Linked DNA regions of Homo sapiens: all the other regions are linked to region 2. The links are contacts of gene promoters, found by promoter capture Hi-C in blood cells and fetal thymus (Javierre and others, 2016). All regions are on one chromosome and are shown on one strand. The core of a region is centred on a gene start or on the middle of the fragment in contact, and the rest is flanking DNA. Distances in the headings are between cores, read along the strand shown.

What was found. Contacts are between HindIII fragments. The CHiCAGO score rates a contact against its expected background, and 5 or more counts as called.
Region 1: a fragment that was not itself captured here is called in contact with the fragment with the promoter of AXIN2 in region 2 in 1 of 17 cell types (megakaryocytes); the score reaches 5.1 in megakaryocytes.
Region 3: a contact is called between a fragment that was not itself captured here and the fragment with the promoter of AXIN2 in region 2, in 1 of 17 cell types (fetal thymus). The highest score is 6.1, in fetal thymus.

The regions. Positions count from the first base shown.
Region 1 is chr17:66,135,457-66,139,852 of GRCh38, forward strand. The region is part of intron 4 of CEP112 (centrosomal protein 112); the gene reads right to left. Among named protein-coding and RNA genes, the nearest start is that of CEP112, 54 kb to the right of the region's middle. The HindIII fragment of the contact is 313 bases long and covers 1,643-1,955 here.
Region 2 is chr17:65,559,360-65,563,653 of GRCh38, forward strand. AXIN2 (axin 2) reads right to left here and starts at 2,289. Exons shown (of 11, transcript NM_004655.4): 1 at 2,091-2,289. RefSeq lists a silencer at 2,303-2,452. The HindIII fragment of the contact is 19,935 bases long and covers 1-4,294 here.
Region 3 is chr17:66,164,353-66,168,777 of GRCh38, forward strand. All of the region lies in intron 4 of CEP112 (centrosomal protein 112), which reads right to left. Among named protein-coding and RNA genes, the nearest start is that of CEP112, 26 kb to the right of the region's middle. The HindIII fragment of the contact is 1,822 bases long and covers 2,142-3,963 here.

The DNA of each region.
Region 1 (4,396 bases), core at 549-3,048, 580 kb after region 2:
GTGCCACACGCCACACAGAATAGCAAGTCCTGGTGCTTATAAGCACAACCTACAATTGGTACAGGGGACCTGATCACAGTGAGCTCATAATATGGTACTTGTGCCAAGCAGAAAAGCGGTATTGTGCCTCAATTAATTTCAGGATGCCAAAACCAACATGGAAAGAAAAAATTCAGTACATTTGTAACATTCCCTGACATGCCCTTTACTACTCTTAAGCCATAAAACTAGGAGAATATAAATTTTCCCTTTCACTTTTTCCTAATGAGAAAATATTTCAACAGGAATTCACAAACACTCTCAAAGTATCAATGCTGATTCTTAATACTAGAAAAATATAAACTTATCCCTGTACAGATAAAGAAATAAGGAATGATACTATATATAGATATAGATATAGATATAGATATATAGATATAAAGCCTAAAGGAAGACCAATCAAATGTCCTCCTGTAAAAGAAAATTACTTTAGGGGGTGACGTCAGATGTCAGCAAGACTCTCCTTCTCTCAATGGACACATAAATTCAACAACAATACATAGACCAAAATTTCCTTTGTGAGACATCCAGAGACCAGATGAGAGGCTCCTGTACTCCAGGCAAGCATGAAACCAACCACACTGAAGCCAGTAGGAAAATTTGTGGAATCCTCTTGCGCCATAAGCAAGGTTACTTAAGGGACTTGTTGCTGTCTTGCCTGAATCTTAGCTGTGACAGGAAAGGGTCCCAGGTTGGGAACTGCTGAGAACGAAGCCTCCAGTTTGGACTAGTATGCAGTAACTGACCATAGCCCCTCCCACCAGCTCAGAACTAGCAGGTGGAAACCCCCAGTCCCAACTTCTCCCTGGGGAACGAAAAAGCTGAAGCATCTGTCCAACATTCTGGCTTTTGGAAGGGGCTGCCTAAGGGACCGGATTCTGCAAGTACTCACAGGACTGGTATTCTCTAAATGCCTGGGGACCACTGAGAACAAAGGTGGTGGTTTGGACTAGTAAACACTCACGGCCAGAGCTCCTACCCCTGGCTCAGCACAATTAGAAAAACTCATGGTCCACAGCTTCTCCCTGGGGAGGGAAAGAGAAAACTAAAGCATATATCCAACATTCAGACTCTTGGGGGACTGCCCAAGGAACTTGTTTCTGTCTCATCTGTCTTGAAGCACTGGTGGGACGCAGCATAAACTAAGTGCCTAGGGGCAGCTGAAACTAAAAAAGCAAGTAATAACCAAAAAAGGATTGAGCCAGTGTGCTACTAGCTCCAGAAGGCCCATGGTACAAGACACAGAATAAGAAGGAACAAGAGATTATGATCTCCTAAAAACAGAAACCAGAAAATCCCACTATTTAGAAATTTACACACAGAAGTCCAGAGAAGACATATCCACAGAAAAAGTTTATGAGGACCCCAGAATCTCTACTCAGGCCGATTCTTGAAGGTCTGCCCCTGTACAAAGCCAATCCATAAAGACTGGGAGAAGCGGCTGTTTTTCAAATATGCAGACATTAACACAAAGGGTCAAGGAAAATGAAAAATGGCCCAAAGAAAGGAACAAAATAAATCTCCAGAAACCAACCCTAAAGAAATGAAGGTAAATGGATTAGCTGGTAAGAATTAAAAACAACCATAATCAAAATATTCAATAAGCTTAGGATAAATTATGCATAAACAAAATGAGTATTTTAACAAACAAAATATTTTTAAAAAGAAAAATTTGAGGGCTGAAGAATACAATAACTGAACTAAAAACTTAACTAAAGGGGCTCAACAGCAGCCTTGATCAAGTACAAGAAAGAATCAGTAAACTCAAAGACAGGACATTTGAAATTATACATTCCACAAGAGCAAAAATGTTTTTAAAAGACTGAAGAAAACATAAGAAACTTATGAGACACTATCAAGCAGGCCAATTTACATATTACTAAAGTTAGAGAAAGAGAAGAGAGAGAAAAGCAGTAAGCTTATTTAAAGAACTAATCTGAAGAGAAAAATGGACATCCAGATTTATGAAGCTCAAAGAATCCCAAGTAGGTTGAATGTAAAGAGATCTACACCAGGACACATTATAATCAAATTGCCAAAAGTCAAAGACAAAGAATTTTGAAATCAAAAAGAGAAAAGCAACTCACTACATACAAAGGAGACTCATAAAACTGTAAAAGGATTTTTCAACAGAAACTTTATAGGCCAGGAGAGAATGGGATGATATATGCAAAGTACTGAAAGAGAAAAACTGCCAGTCAAGGATATTATTATATACCATGCAAATCTGTCCTTTAAAAATGAAAGAGAGATACGGTCCCAGATAAACAAAAGTTGAAGGAGTTCATCACCACTACACTTGACTTAAAAGAAATTCTAAAGGGAGTTCTTCAAGTTGAAATGAAAGGACACTAGTTAGTAGCATGAAAACACATGAAAATATGAAACTCACTGATAAAATTATATATAAAATACAGATTACTCTATTGATATAATAGTGGTGCATAAATCATTTTCAACTTCAACATAAAAATGAAAAGATGAAAGTCTTAAAAATAACTATAACAGTTACTGAAACACCAGGAGTCCAGTCTAGGTCCCATTGCTCACCGCACAGAAAGTCAATCAATGAGATCAATGAGACAATGAGTATTGCTAGGGAAGAAGGCTTTATTTGGGCACTGCAGCCAAGCAGATGGGAGATCAGTATCAAATCCATCTCCTCGCCCAACTAAAATTAGTTTATATAGCAGGAAGAACTGTAACTACCTGTGGGAAAACAGGAATTAGGGACTGGTAAGGAAGAGGAGTTCGTCAACAGGAAGCAGGTGGTTGGTCAGGCAATCATGATAGGTGAGGGGTCTGGCATAACATTGTCTAGATGCAGTGATCTGGTAAGTTTCAGTTCCTTGATACTATCTGGGATACCTGATGGTTGGTTTCCAGAGACAGGAACTCAAATAAGACAAACGTTAAGTTTCTCCAGTGTTAAGACTGGGTGGGTTAATTTCTATGTTTATTCAAAAAAACCATAAACATCCATTTTATGGGACAACTTGGATGGTTTCATACCACAAAATAATTTGTTAATGAATACAGAATATTAAAAGGTGAAAATCGGGACATTAATAACAAAGTGTGTGAGTAAAAGTATTGAATTTTTTAATGCAATCGAAGTTATCAGCTTAAAATAGGTTGTTACAACTATAAGATGATTTATGTAAGCCTTATGGTAACACAAATTCTTTAAATATAGTAAGTACACAAAACATAAAAAAAAAGAATCAAAGCAAACCACAGTAACAATAAACACATCATCAAATCACAAAGAAATATAAGGAAGAAATGAACAAAGGAATTATATAACAGTCAGAAAGCAATTAACAAAATGACTTATTAAGTCCACAAATGTGTGAAAATTAAACAACAAATTCTCATCAATCAATGAGTCAAATAAGAAAGCAAAATAAAGGAAATTAGAAAACATCTTGAGACAAATGAAAACAAAAACACAACATACCAAAATGTGTAGGATTCAGTGAAAGCAGTGCTAAGAGGAAAATTTACAACTGTAAAAGCTTATATTAAAAAAGAAAAAAAACTCTAACAACCTAGATGCACACCTTAAGGAACTAAAAAAAGAACAAACTAAACTCAAAGCCAGCAGAAGGAAGTAAATATTAATAGTAAGGATTAGGGCAGGGATAAAACAGAAAATAGAAAAACAACAGAGAAAATGAAACTAAGAGTTGATTTATTGAAATGATCAACAAAATTGAAAAACCTTTGGCTACACAGAATAAGAAAAAAGGAGAGAAGACTAAACAACTAAAATCAGAAATGAAAGATAAGACATTACACTCAATTTAACAGAAATAAAAAGAATGACTGGGTGCAGTGGCTCATGCCTGTAATCCCAACACTTTGGGAGGCTGAGGCAGGAGGACTGCTGGAGCCCAGGAGTACATGACCAGCCTCAGCAACATAGTGAGCCTCATTTCTACAAAAAAATAAAAATAATAAAAATTAGCTGGATGTGGTGGCACACACCTGAGGTCCCAGCTACTTGGGAGGATGAGGTAGGATTGCTTCAGCCCAAGATGTCAAGGCGGCAGTGAGCAGTGATTGCACCACTGTGCTCCAGTCCGGGTGACAGAGTGAGAATCTATCTCAAGAGAAAAAAAAAAGTTATAAAAAGAACTGTAAGAAAGTACTATGAGCAACAGTATGCCAATGTATTGGATAACCCAGATGAGATGACCAAATTACTCGAAATGCAAAACTTACCAAGATTGAATCATGAAGAATAGAAAATATGAACAGACCAATAACTAGTAAGGAAACTGAATCAGTAATTAAAAATCTCCCAACCAAGAAAAGCCCAGAACCAGATGACTTCACTGGTGAATTCTACCAA
Region 2 (4,294 bases), core at 1,039-3,538:
GGATTGGGCTCCCGGACTCCCAGATTCAGCACGCAAACACCCCCTCCCCAACTCAGATTTGAGTGTTCGCTACGCGCCCCCTACCCCCACCAAGAATCCAGCTCAGTCAACACCTCTGTCTTCCCTGACCTCCCCCCAAACCAGAAACCAACTCACTCAGGGGAGACTTTCATCTTCAAACTTTGAGAGAGAGCTGAGAAGCCTCGGAACCGTCGCCCCCGTGCCCCCAACCCACCTCCCGGATCCGCGAAACCTACAAAACTGGATCACCAGCCGTCTCACGCCACTACTGCCTGTGCCAAGAATCCCAAACTCTACTGATTTCAAGCCTGTCTTTTTTCCAAAGAAAAAAGTCTTATCTAACCAATAAACAAGCTGCTTTCCCTAGCACGGAAAAGATCAAACTAAGAAGGGTAGGGGCTGAACGGGGTGCAACCCCGGGCGAGAAGCCAGGGACCCCGGATCTGGGATGGGTGCACGCTGAACCCGACCAGAGCCTCGAGCCGCGGGGCTGGGCGGCGCGGCCCACGGAGAAGTGGGGCTGCCGTTGGCACCGCGCTACCCGGGCGGTGGGAGGTGGAGCGGCCCCGTTACCTGGAAGACGAAGGCCGCCGAAGCCAGGCTCTCATGTCCTCCGAGCCCCTCCGGCCCGGTCCCCCGGCCCAAATGCAACTGAACGCCTCCAGAGCCCTGGCGGGCACACCTCGAGGCCGGAACCCCGGGACACGCCAGCAGCGCCCCGAGCCCGGGCGGGGGGTCGGTCCCCGGCGCCGCCGTTTGCAGAGGCGCCCGCAGAAAAAGCACAGAAAGCAGCAGCCTAGTCCAGAAATGGCGACGCGCGGAGTCTCTGCCTCTCCGCAAAAGGGGCCGGGGCGGCCACGGGCGAGGGGCCCGGGCCGGGAGGAGGGACGCGAGGGACACGGGCGCCCCGGACTTGGGCCGGTCCTGCGCGCAGACTGAGCCTCCGCCAGCGCTGTGGGCCCCTTAGCGCGGACCCGCGGCAGGGAGGGGAAAAGGGGAGGGGGAAGAGAAGTAGGAGGAGAGGATGGGGCGGAGGAGAGGCGGGGGGCGGGGGAGGGCAAGCGGGGGGCGCCGCTACCCTTTCATCCCACCTCCCAAAGGCACTCCCGCGCGCACTCACACGCCGACTCACATCCATAACCGCGACAGCGACGCGACCCCCGGGGGGTATCTGCCCCCTCTCCGCCCCCGCCACTGCCGCCACTCGGATAAGTCTCCTCTCTGGGCCCCCCGCCAACCCGGTCACCGCGCTGGGGAGGGGGCTCCGGCGCAGGGCGCGCAAGGCTGCCCGGCCAAGCCCCCCGGAACGCTGGGCGCCGGGTCCGCCGCTCCCCTCCGCGCCGGCCCCTAGCGCGCCCCGAAATAGCCGGCCTGCCAACTTCAAAGGGCCGCCCCGCACATCAAAGCGCGCGGTCCGCCCGGCCGCCTCGGCCTCGGCACTCACCATTGATCCCCGCGCGCGCTCGGCGGCGAGACCTCGCAGGCGCCCCTGGCAGGGGCCCGGCCCCGGCCCCCGGCTCGGCTCGCGGCGGCAGCCCCGGGCCCCCCCGGGCCGGCCGCGGCGTCGGGGAACATGGGGAGTCGTGCGGCGGGGGAGGGGGTGCGGGAAACAACAATCCCGGGTTCAGAGCGAAAGCCACCGGCCGGGGAGGGGGAACGGCGCGCCCCGCCGCCCCTTTTATGCAAAAGATCCGAGCGGGCCTCCGCCCCCGCCCGGCCCGGCTTTCAACGCAGGTCCTGTTTCCAGCAGTCACTCGGCGCACCAAATGTCCTCCGGGCGCTTCCAACAAAAACTGCGCTGTGGATTTAACTGTGCACTTCAAAGGCGCGAGCCGAGCGCACGGTCCTGAAAGGGAGGTACGCGCCGGCCGCGCCCCGGGCCGCCCCCCGCAGCCCCGCCACCGCTCCGCAGGGCCGCCCCGCCCGCGCCCCCCTCCAGGCCCGGCCTCCGCCTGGCCGGGCCCCCTCCCGCCCCCCGCGCCCACGCCGCGGCTCGGCGCGACCTCGCCCCCTGTAAGAGGGGGGCTTTCTTTGAAGCGGCTCCGCTGGGGCCGAGCTTCCACCCCCACCTTTTACAGCAGGGCCTTCGGCGGGCGCCTCGGCCGCCGGGCGGCCCCGAAATCCATCGCTCTGAGGGGTTATTTTTATTTCCCGGCTCTCGGGCTGTTACTGAGTTGCCAGGACCTTATCAAAGCGCAGCCGGCTCCAGCCGACTCCCCCGGGCCAGGCTCGCGGAGCCAGTGATCCCGCCGCGCCAATCACAGCCGCGCTCGGCCGGCCCGCGCCGCCCGCCTTAAAGGGACAGCGCCCCGCGCCCGCCCCGCCCCGCCCCGGCCCGCCCCCGCCGCACGCTCCGCTCCCGCGTTAACCCTTCCCCGGCCTCTCCTCCGCCCCCTGCCAGCCCCCCGCGGCCCCGAGGGCATTCTCAGCCCGAGTTCTGATTTCTTCTTTTAAGTTCTCCGGCCTCTTTGCTCCCGCCTCCTCCCCCTGCCTGCCCTCGCTCTCCCCGGCTCTGGAATGCAACAGTTTCTGGTAGCATTATGGCCATCGCAAGAACTGCAAGCAAGCAGATTTTTTTTTTTCTATCATCAAACGCTTTTCTACCTCTATTCAAGTTTCCCTGGGAATTTGGGCTTGGAGGACTTTATAAAGGGAGTTCCGGCCCTGGGGTTGGCTGGCCCGCTGTCATAGGGCGGACTCGGGCCCAGCCGCTGGAGGCGTGTGCATGCCTGTGCGCGCTTGTGCACGTGCATCTGAGTTCGGGTAAATATAGGACTGCAGTTGGTGGATGAATTGCGTTTGTGCATGTGTGAAAGTGGGGTGTGAATCCGCCAGTATAGGCCTGAGTGCTAACACCAGTTAGGAGGCATACCTCAGTGCCCTGAAGACCTAGGTCCAGCTTCCTAACCTGCTGGCCATAAGACCCTCGTAGCGGCACACATTGGCCATCTCTCCCAAACAACTGCATACCCGTTACTCTTCCAAAGTCCCCTCTTCTGCCATATGTTACATATTAAACCGATAGGAATATCTTTTTTCCCACTCCAAACGACAAGGCATGCATGCCGTTTTAATGTATCGAAAACTCCTCACCCCATTGTCACCTTTGAATTTCTCCCACATTTGCCCAAAAACGTTTATAAGGCACACACAACCTTCTCTTCTCCGTTAAAATGAGAAAATATGTCACAAACCCAGAGCATTGTGTATTTATTCTGCTGCTGCTATAGAATGATTCCTTATGTTATGAGCGAATAATTAACTTTTCTTCCTTTTAAAAAACAAAGGGCCGGGGACGGTGGCTCATGCCTGTAATCCCAGCATTTTGGGAGGCCCATGCTGGAGGATCATCTGAGGTCAGGAGTTCGAGACCAGCCTGCCTAATATGGCGAAACCCCGTCTCTACTAAAAATACAAAAATCAGCCGGGTGTGGTGGCACGTGCCTGTAGTCCCAGCTACTCGGGAGGCTGAGGCAGGAGAATCGCTTGAACCTAGGAGACGGGGGTGGGGGGGTTGCAGTGAGCCAAGATGGCACCACTGCACGCCAGGCTGGGTGACAAAGCGAGACTCCCTCAAAAAAAAAAAAAAAAAACACACACACACACACACATAAAGGTGTGAACCAAAGAGATCCAAGAAGTGAAAGGCAGAGTCCTGGCCTCAGAGCTGTGCAAGGCTCTTACTCTCCAACTTAATGGATGACGAGCCCTTTTAAATGCGAGATGGCCTGTCATTAGGCCTTCAGAACTTTAAAACATGCAAGAATTGTGGCTCTATCTAGGTATCCATAGAAAAAGAGAAGGAAGAGGCTGGGTGTGGTGGCTCACCCGTGTAATCCCAGCACTTCGGGAGGCCAAGGCAGGCGGATCACCTGAGGTCAGGCATTCGAGACCAGCCTGGCCAACATAGTGAAACCCTGTCCCTACTAAAACTACAAATATTAGCCAGGCGTGGTGGGGGGCGCCTGTAGTCCCAGCTACTCGGGAGGCTGAGGCAGGAGAATCATTTAAACACAGGAGGTTAAGGTTGCAGTGAGCCTGGGCGACAGAGCAAGACTCCATCTCAAAAAAAAAAAAGAAAAGAAAAAAAGAGGAGGAAGATCCACCACCCATGATCTGCTGGAAAGGGGCAGGTGGCAGGACTGTGCGCCACCTGCCCTCAGCCTAAGGGACTGTGACAAGGGACTAGAAAGCTCTTAGACTTTCTAGTCTAAGACTCTGGACTCTGGCTCGTGGGTGCCATGACAGGTGGCCGCTCCTCCCCAAAACCTGC
Region 3 (4,425 bases), core at 1,803-4,302, 610 kb after region 2:
TTGGAGCCCACCCTGGCCAACATAGCAAGACCCCGTCTCTACCAAAAATACAAAAATTAGCCAGGCGTGGTGGCGGGCACCTGTAATCCCAGCTACTCGGGAGGCTGGGGCAGGAGAATCACTGAACCCAGGAGGCAGAGGTTGCAGTGAGGGGAGATCGCGCCACTGCACTCCAGCCTGGGCGACAGTGCGAAACTCTATCTCAAAAAAAAAAAAAAAAAAATGGCCAGCATGGTAGCTCATGCCTGTAATCCCAGCACTTTGGGAGGCCGAGGCATATGGATCACAACGTCAGGCATTCAAGACCAGCCTGGCCAAGATGGTAAAGCCCCGTCTCTACTAAAAATACAAAAATTAGTTGGGCGTGGTGGCAGGCGCCCGTAATCCCAGCTATTCAGGAGGCTGAGGCAGAGAATTGCTTGAACACAGAAGGCAGAGGTTGTGGTGAGCCGAGATCGTGCCATTGCACTCCAGCCTGGGCAACAAAGTGAAACTCCATCTCAAAAAAAATATATATATATATACACACATATATGTGTGTGTGTGTGTGTGTGTGTGTGTGTGTGTGTATATTTATTTATAAACAGTTTCTTTTTTGTTAGTAGGAGCTCCTCTGACAGCAGAAATTGACCAAGAGCAACTAGATGTTGATCATGGGTGATCATCACCAAAAAAGGGAGCTGCCCGTGAAATGCAAGTAAGCACAGAAGAAAGGTCTCCCATGTGGCAGAGCCAGTTTCTATGCACCAGCACCCAAGCCCTAGTCCCCATTCCTACCCCACATCCCCACCGAGACAGAGAACAGGCCACCAGCTCTCCATCTGGTCAGTCAGGTTTTGCAATGGCCAAGCAGAAGATTCGGATCTGGTACTGTTCTGCCCAACACAGTAGCCCCTAATCACATGTGGCTATTTAAGTTAATTAAAATTAGAAATTCAGTTTTTCAATCACACCAGCCACATTTCAAGTGTTCAATAGTCACGTTTACTGGTGGCGACTGTATTGGACAGTGCCGCCTATAGAACATTACCATCAGAAAGTTCTATTGAACAGTACTGCTGTAGAACACATATCTGCCCAAACATCAGGGTTATTCACAAATAAAATGAATGTACTTTTGGCAGGTAATATTTAAGAAGGTTTTACTAAGAAGGAAAGGTATTGATTGGCTCCTTGCTAAATTATCCAACAATTTCAGGAGGAGCAATTTATAATGTTATATAGTATCATTTACATATAAAAGTGGAGTTTAACAAAGTAAAAAGATTCTTTTGCATGCCCAGACTAAAAAATTAAATCAATATTTTTAAAGTGAAAAATGTTTGCTCACATAGATTAACTTCTTCAACCACAAGTGGGTTTTCATTATACTTGATCACCATCTGCTGGCCATGTTATTAAACTGCACACACAAATGAAATGCTAGCTATATTGGGGTAAGACATACAGAATCCCAGCTTTTTGCCACAATGCATTCCTGGAAAACCATATCATAAAGAGGATCATTATAAAGCAAGTCACATTTTCCATAAGGGCAGGACCATAATTAGAATCTTCATTCCAAACTAAAATCTAGCATCAAATAACCCATGGCAAAATCTCATTAAAGCAAAGATGTAAAAACTATAGTCCTCTATAATTATTTAAAATAGGATAATTATTCTCCAAGTTCTTTCTTACAGGTATGAACACATGTATTATTTAGATGACCCAACATGAGTTAAAAGATAAATATAATTTATATAAAATTAGCCTAAATCTGATATGGTAAAAATAGTAGGTAGTTAATAATAATTATTTGCACTCTCCTAGAAATCCTAAGCAATCTGGTGTAGGCTCCTAATAAAATGGCACCTAATTAAATGCCTTCTTTTTCATCAATAAATTCCTCTCAAATAAGCAGAAGCAACGTGTTTCTTCCATTGTAAAGCAGTGTTTAAAGGTCAGGGTTTATTTAACATTACTCCTCTTCACCCTACCCTAACTTTTAATCAAAGTTTTCAGTAAAAATAATAAGTGCTATTAAATCATTTTTTTACATCTTTCCCTATCCCAGAACCTCACTGCACTTTGGTGATAAGCTACCAGACCACGTATACTTCACTGAAAAGACATAAAATTACTACAAGCCATTAACAAGAAGCTTCAAAACATTTTTCACAGAATTGTAAAGCAAGAATACAACCTATTACTTTTGTGTTCTTTGAGATAAAGCATGAAGAATATATAGATGATGTGAACTAAAATCAAAATATTAGTTACCAGCCGAGCACGGTGGCTCACACCTGTAATCCCAGCACTTTGGGAGGCCGAGGGAGGGGGATCACCTGAGGTCAGGAGTTCGAGACCAGCCTGGCCAGCACGATGAAACCTCGTGTCTACTAAAAATAAAAATAAAAAAATTAGCCAGGCGTGGTGGCACACGCCTGTAATCCCAGCTACTCAGGAGGCTGAGGCAGAAGAATCGCTTGAACCCGGGAGGCAGAGGTTGCAGTGAGCCGAGATCGTGCCACTGCACTCCAGCCTGGGTGACAGAGCAAGACTCCATCTCAAAAAAAAAAAAAAAAAAACACACAGTTACTTAGGCAGCTTCAAATATATGGCGTGAAAAAATGTAAACAATGAGGCCAGCCACTGTGTGTTCCTTCTATCCTTGAAAAAGAGGCCTATTACATTGTTTAAAGATTCCTATAAAGCCTCTTTTAAAATAGAATTACCATTCTTTATTTTGATATTGTGCAGGATTCATACTTACAATCATAACCTTTCTGCAGAGTCATAATTTATTTTTCTCAGGGAATACAAAATGACTTTTAGTAACTGAAAATAATTAATGACCAACAGACTTTAAGATAATACCCTTTGGGAGGATTAGTAATTAGGGAAGCAAAAGCATGGTCAAACAATCTAACAAGCAAGGCCCTGATGAACTATTACAATAATGATCACCATACCAGTGATGATGGTGGTAGCCGCAGCTAACACTTAACAGGCCCTCTGTCAAGGGCTCTACACGTCTTATTTCACTTTGTCCTTACAACTCCATTTGCAAATGGAGATAGTGGTAGTACTAACCCCGAAGTTAGTACTACCACTATCTCCATTTACGAGTGATGAAACTGGGGTTTAGAGAAATTAAGTAACTTGCCTGAGGACAGATGGTTGCCAAGTGTCAGAAGTGGAATGTGAACAAAGGCAAACTGCTTTCTTTCAGCTCAACCTAGAAATAACCAAAAACAAAGGTATAGCTGCCCAGGATTGCTGACGCAGCACAAGTGGAAAAAAACAGATAAAACTGAAATTTCCATATTTGCTGCATAAAGTACTTATGCCTATATGATACACTAGAAAGAACATGGGTGTGAAATCATAAGGCCCTGCATTCCAATATTGGATCCATCACTGGAAAAGTCACTGGACTTTCCTGAAGCTGTTATCTTGTCTATAAATACAAAAGGGCAATGATGTCAGCCTCACTGGACTATAGAGAGGATTCAATCTGATGACTTGGAAAAGATTTCTAGAACAGTACCTAGCATGCAGTAGGAGATCCATAAATGGTATGACTTGCCTCACTTGGCCTCTGCTTTCACAAATTAGAAATACAAGTGGAATCCACAAACATTTATTTACTAGAAAATTTTTTATTTTTATGTTTAAATGTATATATATCTGTTATACAAATTTATTAATTTGCAATGTGTATGCACAAACATTTTAACAAGATGATATTTCAGAAGGCAACTGAACAGTATCTATCAAAATAAGAGTGTGATTATTAGAAATACCATAGACACATTTTTTTTACAAGAACGTTTTTAAATGTACACTCCAAACTAGTCCAAATCCCTAAAGCTAACCACCTTTAACAGTTTCATGTGTGGTACCCAGAAAGATTCCCTGCACACGAACACATATGTATCCACAGAGCCTCTAAAACACATATACACAAACACAAACGGAAGCTTCCTATACTTTATGTACTTCTTTTTAACTTTATCCTATTAGATCTTGCCATAATAACCTATATATATGTGTGTGTATATATATGTGTATATGTGTGTGTGTGTGTATATATATGTATATATATGTGTGTGTATATATGTATATGTGTGTGTATATATGTATATATGTGTGTGTGTATATATATGTATATATGTGTGTGTATATATATGTATATATGTGTGTGTGTGTGTATATATATATATATTTTTAACCATTGCACAAGATGTTGAACCAACTAATAACTCCACCAACAAAGCAATTTCTCACCTAGGAGTCCATAATAGCCCAAAACAGATGCAGGCATATAATAATCCTTCTTGATATTCTAACTGATAATTTGGCATCTTGAAATCATGGACCAAACTAACAGCCAAAGTTGTCCACATCCTTACCATTCCTGTCTTTTTGTGGGCACTTGGA